Linked DNA regions of Homo sapiens: region 2 is linked to region 1. Evidence: promoter capture Hi-C in 16 types of primary human blood cells and fetal thymus (Javierre and others, 2016). All regions are on one chromosome and are shown on one strand. Each heading gives the region's core, a stretch centred on a gene start or on the middle of the fragment in contact. The rest is flanking DNA. Distances are from core to core; before and after follow the strand shown. Region 1 holds the start of AMER3 (APC membrane recruitment protein 3). Region 2 overlaps ARHGEF4 (Rho guanine nucleotide exchange factor 4).

Evidence for each region. Contacts are between HindIII fragments. The CHiCAGO score rates a contact against its expected background, and 5 or more counts as called.
Region 2: a contact is called between a fragment that was not itself captured here and the fragment with the promoter of AMER3 in region 1, in 1 of 17 cell types (erythroblasts). The highest score is 5.6, in erythroblasts.

What each region holds. Positions count from the first base shown.
Region 1 is chr2:130,751,655-130,758,086 of GRCh38, forward strand. It overlaps AMER3 (APC membrane recruitment protein 3), which reads left to right and starts at 3,886. Exons shown (of 2, transcript NM_152698.3): 1 at 3,886-4,020. LOC124907890 (a long non-coding RNA gene) reads right to left here and starts at 4,228. Exons shown (of 2, transcript XR_007087239.1): 1 at 4,029-4,228. RefSeq lists enhancers at 3,662-4,161, 5,040-5,543. The HindIII fragment of the contact is 12,260 bases long and covers 1-6,432 here.
Region 2 is chr2:131,000,497-131,006,928 of GRCh38, forward strand. All of the region lies in intron 4 of ARHGEF4 (Rho guanine nucleotide exchange factor 4), which reads left to right. Among named protein-coding and RNA genes, the nearest start is that of SMIM39, 31 kb to the right of the region's middle. The HindIII fragment of the contact is 1,397 bases long and covers 3,073-4,469 here.

The sequences.
Region 1 (6,432 bases), core at 2,636-5,135:
AGCACTTTTATAGGTTAAATGAGATTGTGCCAAATAAACTGTATTTCATTATTTTTTTCCCAGTGTTTAAGGGCATGGTTGTTAATAAGAGTGATAAAAACAAGAAACATAGCTAAGCCAGAGAACCTCCACATAAAATTTTAAAATAAAAGGGTTAGGGCCCGGTGCAGTGGCTCACACCTGTAATCCCAGCACTTTGGGAGGCCGAGGCAGGCGGATCACGAGGTCAAGAGCTCGAGATCATCTTGGCTAACTCAGTGAAAACCCCATCTCTACTAAAAATACAAGTGGCGGGCACCTGTAATCCCAGCTACTCGGGAGGCTGAGGCAGGAGAATGGCGTGAAACAGGGAGGCGGAGCTGGCAGTGAGCCGAGACTGCACCACTGCACTCCAGCCTGGGTGACAGAGCGAGACTCCATCTTAAATAAATAAATAAATAAATAAATAAATAAATAAATGGGTTTGAATGCTTACAAAAGTAGACTGGGACAAAGCTACAGTAATCGAAACAGTGTGGTACAAAGACAGACATACAGACCGATAAAATAGGATAGAGAGCCCAGAAACAAATCCTCAGGTATTTAGTCAAATGATTTTCAACAAGGATGCCAAGACCATTCAATGGAGAAAGGACAGTCTTTTCAACAAATTATGCTGGGAAAACTGAATAGTCACATCAAAAAATGAAACTGGACTCTTACCTTCTGCCATATACAAAAATTAACTAAAAATTGATCGAAGAGCTAAAAGTATAAAACTTTTACAAGAAAACCTAGAAAATCTTTGTGACATTGGATTTTGCAATGATTTATTTGATATGACACCAAAAGTTCAAGAAATAATACACAAAATAAATAACCTGGACTTTATCAAAATTAATGAAAACCACTCATCAAGAGTGACAAGGCAATCCACAGAATGAGAAAAAATATTTGCAAATCATCTACTGGGTAGGGGATTAACATCCAGAATATATAAACAACTCCTAGAACTCAACAATAAAGACAAACAATCTAATTAAAAATGGAGAAAGGACTTGAATAGATACTTCTCCAAAGAATATATACAAATGGCCAATAAGCATATGAAAAGATGCTCAATATCACTAATCATTAGGAAAATACAAATCAAAACCACAATGATATACGACTTCACAGCCATCCTAATGGATGGCTACTATTTATAAACAAATAACAAACAAACAAAAACACACAGAAAACAACATGTTGGCGAGGATATGGAAAAATGCTCTACATTGCTGGTGGGATGTCAAATTGTACACAGTGGAGAACAGTATGATAGTTCCTCAGAAAATTAAACATAGAAACCATTATGACTCCAATATGGCACTTCTGTGGTTTATATTCCAAAGAACCAAAAGCAGGAACCTAAACAGGTATTTGTACATTGCTGCTTATAATAGCATTATTCACAATAGCCAAAGGTGGTGCAACCCAAACGGTCCATTGACAGATGAATGGATAAACAAAATGTGGTCTCTACACACAATGGAATAATATCCACTCTTAAAAAGGAAGGATATTCTGATACATGCTGCAACACGGATACACCCTCAAAACATTATGCTAAGTGAAATAAGCCAGCCACAAAAAGACAGATACTGTATGATTCCACTTCTATGAGGTACCTAGAGTGGTCAAAATCAGAGAAAAGTAGAATAGTGGTTCCCAGCAGCTACGGGGAGAGGAGAATGGAGTTTTAGTGCTTAATGGGTACAGAATTTCTGTTGGGGTCAGGAACGTGTTTTGGCAATAGACTGTGGTGATGGTTGCACAACAGTGTGAGTGTAAATGCCACTGAACTGTACACTTAAAAAGGGGTAAATGGTAAATTTCATATTATGTATATTTTACCACAATAAAGAAAAAGAAACCGGCCGGGCGTGGTGGCTCACGCCTGTAATCCCAGCACTTTGGGAGGCGAGGAGGGCAGATCACCTGAGATTGGGAGTTTGAGGCCAGCCTGACCAACATGGAGAAACCCTGTCTTTACTAAAAATACAAAATTAGCCAGGCGTGGTGCTGCATGCCTGTAATCCCAGCTACTCAGGAGGCTGAGGCAGGAGAATCACTTGAACCCGGGAGGTGGAGGTTGCAGTGAGCCAAGATCACACCATTGAACTCCAGCCTGGGCAAGAAGAGTGAAACTCCATCTCAAAAAATAAGATAAAAATTTTTTTAAGAAAAAGAAACCAACTGTTCACTGTTTGGAAATATGAAATAAAAAAGTTTTTAAATATTGAAAATTTTAAAAGAAAAAGAAACAGCTCAAAGCAGTAGGTCTGATGGTACCCCACAAATGCAGCTGACGTGACTGGCACAGTGGATGGCCGACTCATTTGTGCCCACAGTCAACTCTTTGGCCTGCCAAGAAAGCAAGGGGTGGTGTGGCCAGAAGGTCTGAGACCCTGGGGACAACCAAGTGACCAGAAAGCTAGTTCCAGGAAAGAAAAGGTTTACAGCCACTGCTCAAAAACACAGATGAGAAATCTAAGTCAGTGTTTTGTGTGTGTTTTTTTGTTTGTTTTTTTTTTTTTTTTGAGACAGAGTCTCGCTCTGTCACCCAGGCTGGAGTGCAGTGGCACAATCTCGGCTCACTGCAAGCTCCACCTCCTGGGTTCACGCCATTCTCCTGCCTCAGCCTCCTGAGTAGCTGGGACTACAGGCGCCCACCACCATGCCTGGCTAATTTTTTTTGTACTTTTAGTAGAGAGGGGGTTTTGCCATGTTAGCCAGGATGGTCTTGATCTCCTGACCTTGTGATCCGCCCGTCTGGACCTCCCAAAGTGCTGGGATTACAGGCGTGTAAGTCAGTGTATTGTAAAAATAAAATGTAAGTTCACATTAGAATAATATTTAAGAAAAATCATTCAGTGGTATCTGAACTGGGTAGCCTAGTGTAAAAGATTTTTCCAGGAGTCCCTGGGGAAGACCTGATCCCACATCTTGGGGAAATAAAAAATTTGAAATATATATTTTCATGTTACCCAAAAGTTAGGGGTGTTTGAAAACTGTCTGAAATGACAAAGTAGAAGGGTTGGAACAGTTTGCAGTGGCCGAACGATGACCATGTGAGCATCGAAAATGAGCAATTGTCACTCACTGGAAGAAGCTGAATCTGTAATTATCCTCACAATTACATGATTTTATAAGACACATTAAAAAATCCTTAAATGCAAAAGCGGGGAGAGCCTAATAAGGAAGGCTAATGCTTACTAATTTTAACAAGAGGAGGACTGTGGGGTCTGCGGGAGTCCTACCCCTGACTTGGGGTGTATGTGGCAACGAGGCAGAAACTGCCTTCTGTCCTACCTAAGAGAAAGACAGGGAACTCCCACAGCCAGGATCTGCCAAAAAAGGTCAAGACTACCAGCAACATGGGCGAGGGGGCCTCTGGGGTCACGTTGAGTTAGTCGCTGCATAGAAAGAGGGCTCAAATCTAAAAAATGCAAGAGGGTAGGTCACCCAAGGGTGGGGAAGGTCTTGGCTGGAGGATGAAGGGGCCTCTTGTCTCTGGGGCGAGGCGATGTCAAGGGGAATGACAAACCAAACCAGTCCAAAGCAAGGGGACTCTGTGTCCTGGGTTCTCAGACAAGGTGACCGGGAGGGAGCCCACCAAGCTCAGGGAAAGGCCTGGCCTCCGTCATCCACCTGAGCTCTGCCTTCCCTTCAGCCTTAGCCTCAGCGTGGACCCGGGACTCCTGCATCCTCCCGTCCTGCCCCGCCTGGGCACACCACGGCCGAGAGCCTCCTGTTGGCATCAGCCTCTCCCCAGCACCGACTGTGCGCTCCCGCTCCCCCCTCCTCCCCACAACCCCGCCCCACACTACTGGCACTGCTGCCTGAGCCTTCCTGGAGTTACTTAATCCACCCCAGCCCCAGGCACTGAACCACGCGTGCAGACCCCTCGTCCTCAGTTCTGCGGAGACAGAGTCCCCACAGCATTTCTGCTCCTCCCTCAAGACTGCGGCAGAGCACAGCACCAGTAGACCCCACACAGTGAGTACCTGTAGGGCAAGTGCCTCTTTCGTTCTCTTAATAATAGAGTCAGGTCCCTTCTCCAAGGGAAGACCCTGCCTTGCAGCCCCAGCCTGGCCTGCCCCTTCTTGCAGGCCCGCTCCGAACCCTGGGTAAGACTCGTGACGAGGCTCCGGGTGGCCGAGCCCTTCCGAGAGTGCTGCGGTCGGCAGGGCTGGGCTGGCTCTCTGGGCTGAGGGGGAGGGGCTCCCACACCTGTGCGCTCCCGGAAGAGGGGACAGCGGCGGGGGCGCCGTGCGCACGGGGGCGAGGGGAGACGACTGCACCTGAGGGAGGCGCAGCCGCAACCGGGTGGGAGGCAGAGACACCCAGAAACAGAGACGGGGCGATACGAACAGACAAAGCCGGCTCGAGCGCGGCCCGAGCGGCGGCGCAGGGAGGCGGCAGCCTGGCGGAGCAGCCCCCACCGCGGCCGGCGCGCCCCCTCGCCACCCCTGCGCGCCAGCGCCGGCCCGCCCCTCCCGCTGGCCTCTGGCGGCTTAACCCTCGCCTGCCCGACCCCGCGGGGCCCCTGGAGCCGCGGTGGGTGGGTGCGGGCGCCGGGCCTCCCCCTCCCGGCCGCGGCGCGCGGCGCCGGGAGCTGACCGTGGTGCTGAGCGCGGCTCGCGCTCCGACGCGGTGCCCGAGCCTGTCGCGGCCGCGCCCTGCTGCACTGCGGGCCCCCAGCGGTAAGTCGCCAAGGCCCCGAGAGGCTGCGTTGGTCCTGCCCCGCGGATGTGGACCCCCGGGGAGGGCAAGGATTGGGGAATTTGGTGCATTCTCTGGCGCGATGGACGGGCTGAGGGCAGGAAGCAGGGTCGACACCCTCCACCCAGCGGTTCCCGGCGCAGTCAGGGGCCTGGGAGCGGTGACCCTTTTAGGTCTGGGCTAGGGAAGCGGAGAAACCCTCCGCCGGCGGATGCAGGAGCTGAGGGAGAGCCAATATCGCTGTGAGGCCCATCTCCTTGCCCCTGGGCAGGCCAGGACCGCCCAGAGGCGCCCTCCAAGGAGGTGGGCCAGGACCTTCCCTCCCCAGAGGGCCCTTTGTCTCCCCAGTGTGGGGGTTGGGTGGCTTGGTGGTGCTCTCACCGCAGATTCTATTTCTGTTTTATTCCCCATTCCCACCCCCACCCCAGAGCACGGTCGCTTTCCCTCCGCACAGTGGCCCTCACTCCAGCCCTCCCATGACAAGGCAGCCTACTACTGAGAACGCTATTGCCCCATAGCTCTACCGCCAGCCCAGTTTCCAGAGGTCCCTGGGCCTGCGCTTTTTTATCACCATACACTCCTTTGTATCACACTGCTGTGACTTTCCTGCATACCGGGGAAGGCATAGAAAATACCAAAACTATTAGCCAAACGTTTTTTTGTCTCAAGGCGTTTCTGTGGCATGTGTATTCCTCCAGGGTTTTTATTTTGCTCCATGAAATCAAACACCGGGACACTTTCAGGTTAAGAAAGGAAAAAAAAAGCCACGGAATTACCTTCTCAAAGGAAAAAGAAAAAGCTGGGCAGCTAAGCCTGAGTTGGTCATGTAGAAAAGCAACCAGTAGAATAACTTCATTTGCCCAATTTGCAATAAATCCATGTCTGTGTGTGCCGTGTAAAACACTGTGATGGGAGGTGCACAGACAGAGGAGTCTCTGCCACCACCTTCTCTCCCCTAAACCCTGCTTGGGCTCCTAACTCGCCTCTGTGTCTCCGCTGTCCATTTTCACCTGCATCTTTGAAAGTGAGAATTGGCCCGTCACTTGCCCTGGAAGGTTGGCTCCCTGTGGCTTGCAGATAAAAGCACGGCCCTCGCTGAGACCTCAGGCCGGGTGTGGTGTGTACAGCCCATCTCCAGGCCTCATCCCTCTGGCTTGCTGCTCTGGTCACTTGAGCTGCTTTCAGATCCTTAAATATTCTACTTCTCTTGCTCCTCGGGGCCTTTCTGAAGGGTGTTCTCTCTGCCTGGAATATGTGTCCAATGTCTTTTGCCTGGCTGTCCTCTTCTGTCTTTTAAGTTTGGTTTAAATATCACATCCCTGTAACAGAATTAATTAAGTAAATACATTGTGTGGTCCCTGTTCCCATGGAACTTGCAAGTTCGTCTTAGAGATGAAAGACTCAGCCCAGGGTCCTGGTGTCAATGCTGTCTTAAAAAATGATGCACATAGGCCGGGAGCGGTGGCTTACGCCTGTAATCCTGGTACTTTGGGAGGCCTAGGTGGGAGGATCACAAGGTCAAGAGATCAAGACCATCCTGGCTAACACGGTGAAACCCCGTCTCTACTAAAAGTACAAAAAAAATTAGCCGGGCATGGTGGCGGGTGCCTGTAGTCCCAGCTACTCAGGAGGCTGAGGCAGGAGAATGGTGTGAACCCGCGAGGTGGAGCTTGCAGTGAGCCAAGA
Region 2 (6,432 bases), core at 2,521-5,020, 250 kb after region 1:
AGATGTGAATGAATGATTCTTTCAAAGATTGATGGCCTTCTGTACAAAACCATCTGAGCCAAGAGATTTAGGAAGGGAAGGGTTTTTCTTTTTTTAACTACCATTTTAATTTCTTAAGTCTTTGTTCACTCAGATTTTCTCTTATGCCAATTTTACCATTATGTGTACATTTTTAGGAGTTGACGTATTTTATCTAGGTTTTCAGATTTAGAATTGAATGAGAAACTGAAGCAAGCCACAGTCATAATTCAAGGGAAATGTATAAACCTTAAAATATATAAGCTTTAAAATAAGTAGAGAAAGGCAAAGCCAAAAAAAAGCCTATTATAAAGGAAAAGATTAATAAATTTGATAACATTAAAATGTAAACCTGTGCTTCAAAAAATTTTCCAAACAGTGTGCCTTCTCACAGACTGGGGAGTAGTGGCGGACTTAGTAGACTAAGTCACAGACTAGGAAATATATTTAAAATATCTTACGAGTGACAAAGGATTGATGTAAAGAACATATTAAGAACTGAAGATGGGGCCAGGCACAGTGGCTCACACCTGTGATCCCAGCACTTTGGGAGGCTGAGGCGGTGGCTCACTTGGGGTCAGGAGTATGAGACCAGCCTTGCCAACATGACGAAACCCCATCTCTACAAAAATACAAACTTTAGCCGGGCGTGGCAGTGCATGCCTGTAATCCCAGCTACTCGGGAGGCTGAGGCAAGAGAATATCTTGAACCTAGGAGGCGGAAGTTGCAGTGAGCTGAGATTGCACCACTGCACTCCAGCCTGGGCGACAGAGTGAGACTGTGTCTCAAAAAAAAAAAAAAAAAAAAAAAAAACAGAAAGAGCTGAAGATGGATAACGGGAAGACGGATAACATAACACTGGGCATGTGATGCAAATGGGCAGTTCTTAGAAGAGGAACCTGAATAATCAATGAATATGTGAACAAATGTTCAACCTAACTGCCAATCGAGAAGCAACAAGAGAAACCATTCCATACCCTTCACATTGGCAGATGCGTTGTGTGAATGCCAAGTATTGGTGAGGATGTACAGGGTCCAGAATTCTTATAAATGGTGAGTAAATGTAAATTTATACAGATACTTCAGAGGTTAGTTTGGCAGTATCTAGTAAAGTCGAACATGATTCTCTATGTATCCTAGATAAACTCTTCCATGTATGCATAGCAGGCAGCTGTGTGCTGAGGCTTCGAGGTTATACCCAAGAAACATGGAAACGGCAGACTTCAGAAGGATACATGTAGGACGATCATATTTGTGTAAATCTACAAGACACAAATAATAGTACATAACAGTACACCTTAGGATATGTGCATATTTAGTAAGATTATAGAAAATGCATGAGAATAGTACAGAACAATTTAAGCACAGAGATTTGCCTCTGGAGAGGAAGCTAGGGAGGTAACATGAGGGGCAAGGCTTCAGCTCCACTGGTAATATTTTGGGAGATAAGCAATAAATATGCCAAAATGCTGGCATTTGTTTAATCTCTGGGATGGCTACGTCGGAATACTTTCTTTTCTATTTTCTGTACTTTTTTGTATGTTTAGTTTACGTTTATTGAACAAATACTTACTGAGAATCTACTGGCTGCAGGGCTCTGTTCTGGATGCTTGGAGTACAGTGGTAAACAAGGTGCACGCAATGCCCTGTCTTCATGGAGCTTGCCGACTTTAAAATGTTTAAAAATTTAAAAGCTTTAATGCTCAAAATAATTTTTGAAAAGATTAATATGTAGCTAATCTCTTTACTCCTGGAATTAGACACTTAAAAAGCTGTGAGGGGCCGGGCGCGGTGGCTCATGCCTGTAATCCCAGCACTTTGGGAGGCCGAGGCAGGCAGATCACGAGGTCAGGAGATCGAGACCATCCTGGCTAACACGGTGAAACCCCATCTACTAAAAATACAAAAAAATTAGCTGGGCGTAGTGGCTCACGCCTGTAATTCCAGCACTTTGGGAGGCCGAGGCGGGCGGATCACGAGGTCAGGAGATCGAGACCGTCCTGGCTAACACAGTGAAACCCCATCTCTACTAAAAATACAAAAAATTAGCTGGGCGTGTTGGCAGGCACCTGTAGTCCTAGCTACTTCAGAGGCTGAAGCAGGAGAATGTCGTGAACCCGGGAGGCGGAGCTTGCAGTGAGCCGAGATCGCACCACTGCACTCCAGCCTGGGCGACAGAGCGAGACTCCGTCTCAAAAAAAAAAAAAAAAAAAAAAAAAAAAAAAAGGGTTGTGGGGGCTGGGGGTGAAGGAGAGCTCACTGCTCTTTGTAAAATCAGCCTCCGCTGCTGGAACGGACAGTCTGAATGAACTGTTGGTCGGCTTCCTATATTAGTTTTTCAACATTGTTGGTTTACACTTCTGAGTTCATAGAATGAGCACCCTAGCCCTATGGTTTTGTAAGTAGTCACCTAAAGGGAACTGTTTTAATGAATAAACAGGGATGGCTTTTAATTACTACATTTGCTGAATAGATATTTTTGCACCCCAACTTTGTGCAAGACACTAGGATAGGGACTGTTCGGACAAGAGGGCAACAAGCAAAGATCCCTGCTCTGGGAGGTCCCGCAGTGCCTCTGGTATGAACAGCGTTAGTAACAGTGACCTTGACGATGGGGCATTCGCTGTTCTACCTCAGGCATCAACTCTCTAAAGCACTGAGCCATGACGAGGCCAGGGGAATGGAGGACCATCCCGCACGCACTCTGTACCCAGAGGTCCAGGTCATGCCGTAAGACACACCCCCTCTGCACCTCAGTTCCTGATTTATAAAACAATGGCCATTCCTGTTCCACACTGTTTCTGTATGAAGTGAAATGATCTACATGAATGCTCCTGGCACATGATGACCACTCAGTGGATTCCAGTTTCTTCCTTCTTGATCGTGACACGCATCTCTCGTCATTTCTGCAGTATTCCCTGAAGCTTCTTTAAGCAGAGTTCTGGCCAAGGCAGAGACCCTTAGTAAGCACCAGTTGATGGGAAGGCACAATTCACTGGGTCCCTAGATGCACCAGGCTGAGTTGCCTGTGGACAGGTGGGTGAAAATCTGGAAGCTTCTCTGTCCATACTTGCCTGTCAATGAGGAAGAAGATGGCCCCGCAGTACGTGAGGTCAGCCTGAGTGACACTCCTGTTAAGATAGGGATAATCCTTTCTGATCTCTCATTTAGTCTGCCTTGCTTTGGATAGTATGTGATGGCAGTTGCTAGACCGAGCCTGAAATGCAGAAATGCCAGGGCAAAGATGACATCTGACAACATAGCCTAGATATGTCAGTCAGCTAATGACTTCAGATCAGTCTTCTGGGAAGTAGGCTTTTCTGAAATCGATGGGCTTAATTAGAAAGAACTTAACTAGGGTAACTGGGTAATAACGACCTGGAAATATTTATACAGGGACCCTTCACAAGTTTTCACCGAAACAGGACTTTTAAAAAAATCCTAAGCCTTCAGCAGCCAAAGGAGCATCTTTGGTTGGGAGAGATGGGGATAGGAGGATCTTCACTCCCTACATAGAGCCCCTGCACACCCTGGGGACACCAGACCCACCTCTGGGAAAGATAAGAAAGGGAGGAAGCTGGGCCAGTGTGGTGCAGGCCTTCCATATGCCTATGGAATCAAGGAATCTCTGTTAGTTGGTGTGTTTTGTTTTGTTTTGGGGTTTTTTTGAGACGGAGTCTCACTCTGTCGCTCGGGCTGGAGTGCAATGGCACGATCTCGACTCACTGCAAGCTCCACCTCCAGGGTTCATGCCATTCTCCTGCCTCAGCTTCCCGAGTAGCTGGGACTACAGGCCCCCGCCACCATGCTTGTCTAATTTTTTGTATTTTTAGTAGAGACGGGGTTTAACCGTGTTAGCCAGGATGGTCTCAATCACCTGACTTCATGATCCCCCTGCCTTGGCCTCCCAAAGTGCTGGGATTACAGGCGTGAGCCACCGCACCCAGCCCTCTCTGTTTTTTAAACCACATTCGGAAGTATTTCACTCCCTAATTGTCTTTTCCTCAAAGTAAGGAGACAGCCACTGGGAGGTGAATGGGTGGCCAAGCCCACTTGGTGGCAGAGTGCGGCCCTCCTTGTCACACAGCCCGGCCTCGATGGTCCTTCCAGGCCTGACCCGGCCGTGAGCGCCTGCCATCCTCAGCCCTCTTTCTAGGGTGTGGTGTCTCTGTCCCACCCCGGCCTCACAGAACTCAGGTCCAGATCTCTGTGAATGATGGAGAGGATGAAGAATAGTCTGCCCTGGGGACACAACACACTTTGGCTGAACCCTTCTGGCAACCACATCTCTGCTGTTTTATTTACTCCAGTGTCTGGTGTGGGCAAATAGCTTGCAGGTGGCTTTGTGGCTGCCCCATGGCAGGTACAGGAGCAACCCCATTCCCTCCTCCAAAGTTTGGTTTGGATGTGGAGAAGGATAACACCACACACACACCAGGAGGGTGGGGAAAGCTTGTGGTTGGTGCCCTGGGGCTTTCTGTGAGAGCAGGGCAGACTGCAGCCCAGCTGGAACAGCTGCAGCAAAGGGGGCCCTGGGTGGCTGAGTATGGCTGAGGGCTGTATGGTGGTGAGGAGGGAGCCAGGGTGAGAGTCCTGCCACCCCTCGCCTGGGGTTTGCATTGATTTTGCAGTTATGGGGCAAGAGAGGAAGAGGATGGGGCTGGAAGCCATCCGCAGTCAGCAGTGGGCTGATATCTGTCACGCTCTGGGGGCAGAGCTGACTTGACTGTGTCCTGTGAGGGACACAGCAGCAGCCTGAAGAGGGCTCGGCCTCATTCCTCACATCCAGGTAGAAATCGGGAAGTGCAGCCAGGGTAAGCCCTCCCCGGTGAGCTACCGATGACATGGGGTGTCCCACACAGGGCTGCCCTCCAGCAGCAGGGCCCTCCCACAACAGCCACTCCCTGCCGTCCTCAGGCTCCCATGGGGCTCCAAGTCCCAGCTTTCTCCTGACATGGGAGACTGCCCAGTCCTGTTCTGTGTTGAAGTGCGCCTCTGGGGGTCATTTACTTGCATCTGAGATCTGTGAGTGAGATTTCTATATGTTAAGAAAAGCTGGGACCCTGGAGATGCTTCCCAGGCTGCCCTAGTCTTCCCAGTCCCAGGGGCTTGGCCACGTACCCCGCAGCGTGCAGAAGATGCAGGGGAGCTGGCCTGTGTCCTCAGGTGGGAGGGGAGGGGCGGGAGTGCCCAGCGCCCCAGGGGCCAGGCTGTGTGGGCACTGGGGGGAGATGCGCCGTGGACCACAGGGACCCGTGGTGCTGGGCAGCTTCCCGGCAAAAGGTCTGGAAGGTGTGTCTGTAGTAGACAGAATTCTCAGGATGCTCCCAAAACCTCTGCCCACTGGTTAGCCAGACACAAATCTAGGAACTTCCTGCAAGGGACTTTGCAGATAGGACTGAGGTTGCTAATGAGCTGACCTTAACATAGGGAGATAGTTCTGGATTATCTGGGTAGGTCCAGCATAATCATATGAGCCCTTAAAAGCAGCCGAAGAAGCCAGGAGAGGAGCTAAGAGAGATTGAAAGAGAAGGAACTCAACCCACCATTGTGGGGAGGAGACCTGTTCCCCGCCATTGGTCATCCTTGGAAGATGGTAATAGCCCCTGGGCATCACAAGGCAATTCAGCCACCCAGGGACCTCAGTCCGACAGCACTCTGGAACTACATCTGCCTGTAATCTGAATGAGACTGCGAGTTGATTCAGCCGCAGAGCCTCCAGAAAGGGACACAGCCGCGATGACACCTTAATTTAGGCTCTCTGTGACTCCAAGCAGAGAACCCACTGAGCCACACTGTGCCCAGCCCTTTGACCTACAGAAACAGATAACAAATGTATGTGCTGTTAAGCCTCTAAATGCAGGGTAATTTGTTTCAGCAGCAATAGGAAAATAATACATGCATCCCTGCCCGTGGGAGTCACATGGCCCAGGGCCTTAGCAGCGGCCCAGGAGCTGGCTGGCTGTCAGTCACTGAGAAGATGATGAGGGACTGTCAGCCATTAGGGAATGCCATCCAGGAGCCGTTTGTCTACTATTCACTAGTTAGGGAATGGGGAGCTAATTTGCATTTTAATGCTAGATTCTCACCATTTTCCCAAACAGGAAATCCTTCCAGAGTAGAATCTTAGCACTTACCTAGGCATCTTTTATGCTTTTGGGGTTCTGTGCCCTATCCCTCTGGTCTTGCCTGGACTGGGGAGTGGGACTGTTAAGCAAAGAGCAGATTAGGTGAGGCCACCCACCAAAGTACCAACACCTAGGTGCGGGGAGTTGGTCTGAAGAGAGGCTGAAAGACCAAGTCCAAGTCATGAAGGGAAGCAAAAGGCCAAGTCATTGGCTAAGTCCGAAGGATAAAATGGGGCCAAAAGTAGGCCAGGTGGTCCTGCTGAACACAGTTGGGTACTTGTAAGG